Linked DNA regions of Homo sapiens: region 1 is linked to region 2. The links are contacts of gene promoters, found by promoter capture Hi-C in blood cells and fetal thymus (Javierre and others, 2016). All regions are on one chromosome and are shown on one strand. The core of a region is centred on a gene start or on the middle of the fragment in contact, and the rest is flanking DNA. Distances in the headings are between cores, read along the strand shown.

What was found. Contacts are between HindIII fragments. The CHiCAGO score rates a contact against its expected background, and 5 or more counts as called.
Region 1: a fragment that was not itself captured here is called in contact with the fragment with the promoter of MRPL4 in region 2 in 2 of 17 cell types (naive B cells and activated CD4 T cells); the score reaches 5.2 in naive B cells.

Annotation. Positions count from the first base shown.
Region 1 is chr19:10,513,458-10,516,157 of GRCh38, reverse strand. It overlaps S1PR5 (sphingosine-1-phosphate receptor 5), which reads left to right. Exons shown (of 2, transcript NM_030760.5): 2 at 1,129-2,700. The coding sequence starts at 1,147. The coding sequence ends at 2,343. Among named protein-coding and RNA genes, the nearest start is that of S1PR5, 2.6 kb to the left of the region's middle. RefSeq lists enhancers at 234-827, 828-1,421. The HindIII fragment of the contact is 3,006 bases long and covers 1-2,700 here.
Region 2 is chr19:10,250,841-10,253,540 of GRCh38, reverse strand. It overlaps MRPL4 (mitochondrial ribosomal protein L4), which reads right to left and starts at 1,327. Exons shown (of 9, transcript NM_015956.3): 1 at 1,231-1,327; 2 at 1,078-1,144; 3 at 840-990. The coding sequence starts at 1,287. RefSeq lists enhancers at 825-1,398, 1,255-1,664, 1,795-1,944, 1,399-1,972. The HindIII fragment of the contact is 20,723 bases long and covers 1-2,700 here.

The DNA of each region.
Region 1 (2,700 bases), core at 147-2,646, 260 kb before region 2:
TTCGTGTGACTGAATTTTGGTCGCTGTGTTTTTCTGCCTGCGTCACTCTGTTCCTGTATGATGTATTTTTTAGTTTCCCTGATAGTGTGTGACTGTGTGTTTTGCCCTTGTAGTGTGTCGCTGTATTTGTGTGTCTCTTTCTGTGTGTGTTGCGTTTGTGTGCGTTCTGTGTGTTTACTGTTACGTCTCTGGAACTCCCTGCTTGTGTGTTTGTGTGTGTGTGTTTGAGACAAAGTCTTGCTCTGTTGTCCTGGCTGGAGTACAGTGGCACAATCAATGCTCACTGACTGCAGCCTTGACCCCGCGGGCTCAAGTGATCCTCTCACCTCAGCTGGGACTCCACTGAGTAGCTTGGACTATAGGCATACACCAACACGTCCCGGCTAATTTTTGTAGAAACGGGGTTCTCCTATGTTGTCCAGGCTAATCTCGAACTCCTGGGCCTCAAACAATCCTCCCGCCTCAGCCTCCCAAAGTGCTGGAATTACAGGAGTGAGCCACCACACCCAGCCGTGTGTGTGTTTGGTGGGGAGGGGGGGTGTTTTGAGACAGAGTCTCGCTCTGCCACCTAGGTTGGAGTGCAGTGATGCGATCTCGGCTCACTGCAACCTCCGCCTCCTGGGTTCAAATGATTCTTCTGCCTCAGCCTCTGGAGTAGCTGGGACTACAGGCACGTGCCACCATGCCTGGCTAATTTTTTGTGTTTTTAGCAGAGACGGAGGGGTTCACCGTGTTAGCCAGGATGGTCTCGATCTCCTGACCTCGTGATCTGCCCCCCTTGGCCTCCCAGGCCTGAGCCACTGCCTCAGGCCTGAGCCTGGGGGGATTACAGGCGGGGATTACAGGCCTGAGCCACCGCGCCCAGCCATGTGTGAACCACCGCGCCCAGCCATTCATGTGTTATTAATGTCCCTTTTTTTGGGACTATGTCACCTTGTTCCCTCGTGATATTATTTGTGTGTATGTCTGTCTCCACGGACTCTATCCCTCCATCCTGAACTCCCCCTTGGACACCATGTATAGGGGGTGATGGTCAGTGGGTAGGGCCCCTTTCCCACGACTTAGCCGGCTGCTGCGAGCGTGCTTACGGGGACCGCGGCCTGACACCGTATCTTGCCTCTCCAACAGCCTTGGGGCGCGCGGCCCATGGAGTCGGGGCTGCTGCGGCCGGCGCCGGTGAGCGAGGTCATCGTCCTGCATTACAACTACACCGGCAAGCTCCGCGGTGCGCGCTACCAGCCGGGTGCCGGCCTGCGCGCCGACGCCGTGGTGTGCCTGGCGGTGTGCGCCTTCATCGTGCTAGAGAATCTAGCCGTGTTGTTGGTGCTCGGACGCCACCCGCGCTTCCACGCTCCCATGTTCCTGCTCCTGGGCAGCCTCACGTTGTCGGATCTGCTGGCAGGCGCCGCCTACGCCGCCAACATCCTACTGTCGGGGCCGCTCACGCTGAAACTGTCCCCCGCGCTCTGGTTCGCACGGGAGGGAGGCGTCTTCGTGGCACTCACTGCGTCCGTGCTGAGCCTCCTGGCCATCGCGCTGGAGCGCAGCCTCACCATGGCGCGCAGGGGGCCCGCGCCCGTCTCCAGTCGGGGGCGCACGCTGGCGATGGCAGCCGCGGCCTGGGGCGTGTCGCTGCTCCTCGGGCTCCTGCCAGCGCTGGGCTGGAATTGCCTGGGTCGCCTGGACGCTTGCTCCACTGTCTTGCCGCTCTACGCCAAGGCCTACGTGCTCTTCTGCGTGCTCGCCTTCGTGGGCATCCTGGCCGCTATCTGTGCACTCTACGCGCGCATCTACTGCCAGGTACGCGCCAACGCGCGGCGCCTGCCGGCACGGCCCGGGACTGCGGGGACCACCTCGACCCGGGCGCGTCGCAAGCCGCGCTCGCTGGCCTTGCTGCGCACGCTCAGCGTGGTGCTCCTGGCCTTTGTGGCATGTTGGGGCCCCCTCTTCCTGCTGCTGTTGCTCGACGTGGCGTGCCCGGCGCGCACCTGTCCTGTACTCCTGCAGGCCGATCCCTTCCTGGGACTGGCCATGGCCAACTCACTTCTGAACCCCATCATCTACACGCTCACCAACCGCGACCTGCGCCACGCGCTCCTGCGCCTGGTCTGCTGCGGACGCCACTCCTGCGGCAGAGACCCGAGTGGCTCCCAGCAGTCGGCGAGCGCGGCTGAGGCTTCCGGGGGCCTGCGCCGCTGCCTGCCCCCGGGCCTTGATGGGAGCTTCAGCGGCTCGGAGCGCTCATCGCCCCAGCGCGACGGGCTGGACACCAGCGGCTCCACAGGCAGCCCCGGTGCACCCACAGCCGCCCGGACTCTGGTATCAGAACCGGCTGCAGACTGACACCCTCGGCCCACGACTGTCTTCCCAAGTTTTACAGACTTGTTCTTTTTACATAAAGGAATTTGTAGGAAATGCAGCCAAAGGTGCAGTCGGAAAAGATGCAGGGGAAATGTATTTATGCAGCGACACCCCACAATGTGAACAAACAGACAAAAAATCTGTGCCCTCGTGGAATTGACGTTCTGCTTGGGAACACAGAAAAGAACTCGGTGATGAAATAATGGAGATGATTCCAGTGACAAACGACAGAGATGGTGATGGTGGTCAGGGAAGACCTCTCTGCAGAGGTAGTGACTTGTGATGTGAGCTGAGACCTCTGTCCTGGGAAGACCAAAAGAAAAGCATTTCAGGATGAGG
Region 2 (2,700 bases), core at 78-2,577:
GGGATTACAGATGTGAGCCACAGTAACTGGCCCCTACATTTTCTTTTCTTTCTTTTTTTTTTTTTTTTTTGAGACAGAGTGTTGCCCAGGATGGAGTGCAGTGGCGCGATCTCGGCTCACTGCAAGCTCCGCCTCCCGGGTTCACGCCATTCTCTTGCCTCAGCCTCCAGAGTACCTGGGACTACAGACGCCCGCCACCACGCCCGGCTAATTTTTTTTTGTATTTTTAGTAGAGACGGGGTTTCACCATGTTAGCCAGGATGGTCTCGATCTCCTGACCTCGTGATCCGCCCGCCTTGGCCTCCCAAAGTGCTGGGATTACAGGCGTGAGCCACTGCGCCCAGGGTGGCCCCTACATTTTCTTAGAGATGTTATGAACAGCAGGGTAACTAAAATGCAAACAGCCTCTTCCAGGCACCGAGGAATGGTTTAGTCTTTTTAGTGCTCTTATTTGCAAAAACCAGTTAACAAAGATTATCAACATTTCTATAGAACTTATTATGTGCCAGAATTAAGTCATTTATTCATCACAGCAACCTCCCGACCGCTGACAAAATAGGGACACTGAGGGACAAGAGGGGAAGGCAGGATTTGAACCTAATCAGTCGGGCTCCAGAATTCTGTCTCCCTAACCCTTAGATGATGTCACCTCTCAGGCTTCAATCTCACACAGCGCTACAGCAGGGGAAACTGTCATCATTCCCCTTTGACAGGTGGAGAAACGGAGGCTGTAGAAATACAGCACTTTCCCAAGGGTACAAGCCCAAAGTCATCGTGACTCCTGAAATCCCGCTCTTCATCCCTCTGCCACTCAGTTCACCATTACAGCCCTCGCTCACCTGGGCGCGGTGGCGAAAACATCGGGGTGCAGGTCGGCCAGGCCCACGCGCTCCTGCTCGAAGCCCCGCAAGGACTCGACCCAGGCCTGCACTGGGCGTCGATGAGTGGGTACCGGGAGCTCGACTTTGCGCAGCACGGGCTCCGGGAGACCTGGAGCGATTGCGGGGGTCAGAGGTTAGGGTCAAGGGTCAGACCTCTCTGTCGCCGCCCCTCCTGGAGCCACCCCGGTTGCCTTACCCTCGCTCGCCACCTGCTCCGGGTTCTCGGTCGCACGCGCTGCCTCTTCCGCCAGGGAACTCAGGCCCTGCAAGGGTTGGGCGAAAGTGAGAGACGACCCCTGGACACCCCCAAATTTCATCCTTCGACCACGCCTCCAGCCCCTGGCCTCACCTGGCTGCCGGTAGGCCGAAGCCAGGCCCGCGCCCCGGCCCGGACGAACTGCAGCATCGCCGCGCAGCCTCCCACGCCGCGGGAGGTCAAGGCCACTGGAGCCTCGCGAGGCGCCGCTGGATGACGTCACGCACGCGACGCCGCCCTACCCGCCGCGACTCCGCGCTGGAAAGCGGGGTGTGCAAAACCGAAGATGGAGGGGGTCCGACCCGGCGTGCCCAGACCTCCACCCCAGGACTAACCCCCAGACCCAATTTTCACTCCTGCCTCAAGGACCCTCCGTAACACTGGGGAACGCGACCTCACAGCAAGAAGACCCAGCTTCCGTAGGCCTAGCCTACTTTGGGTCCCGCCTCCGACGAGCCGGTGCAGGAATTCAGCCAATGAGACCTCTCTGGCCCAATTCAGCCAATGACTGTTAAGCCTGAAGGAGTGACCCCCGCCCATAAGTGGGCAGTTCTGGAGTGAGCAACTAAGGAATACAGCCAATAACGCTTAAACTTTTGCTGTTGGTCACGCCCACCGGGCCACGCCTTCATCCCGCCTCCAAGGCTGTCGGAGATGGTTTTTTCTTTATCCAGTTATGTGGTTTTGTTTTTTTATTTGTTTTTTTGTTTTTGTTTTTGTTTTTGTTTTTGTTTTTTTTGAGACGGAGTCTTGCTCTGTTGCCCAGGCTGGAGTGCAGTGGCGCGATCTCGGCTCACTGCAAGCTCCGCCTCCTGGGTTCACGCCATTCTCCTGCCTCAGCCTCCCGAGTAGCTGGGACTGCAGGCGCCCGCCACCACGCCTGGCTAATTTTTTGTATTTTTAGTAGAGACGGGTATCACCGCGTTAGCCAGGATGGTCTCGATCTCCTGACCTCGTGATCCTCCCGCCTCAGCCTTCCAAAGTGCTGGGATTACAGGCGTGAGCCACCGTGCCTGGCGTTTTTTCATTTGTTTAAAGGCAGGGCCTTATTGCCCTCAGAAAGCCTTCAGGATTGGGCCTGCCAGACCATGCCTCCCAGTTTAGATTCCCCAGGGCAGGGCCATGTCCCCCCGAAACCCCTCAGATTAGGTATTTGTGTCCCTTACCCCCTAGACCAGGGTCCTCTCCCCTACCCCCTTAAACCAGGTCCCGTCCCCTCTCAGACCTTCCAGGGCTCTCCAAGGACAGAACAAAGTGGGGAGTCCACAGATCCTGGAGTGCCTCCCTTGTCGCCCCCTAACAAATCCGAATGCTTATTTTTAGTTTCTTTGTTTTGGTTTTTAGAGACAAGGTCTTCCTCTGTCGCCCAGGCTGGAGTGCAATGGGCAAGATCATGGCTTACTGCAGCCTCGACCTCCAGAGCTCAAGGGATTCTCCTGCCTCTGTCTCCTGAGTAGCTGGTCTACAGGTACGCAAGCCCGGCTCATTTTTGTATTGTATTTTTTTATTTTGTATTTGTATTTTGAGATGGAGTATCGCTCTGTCGCCCAGGCCGGAGTGCAG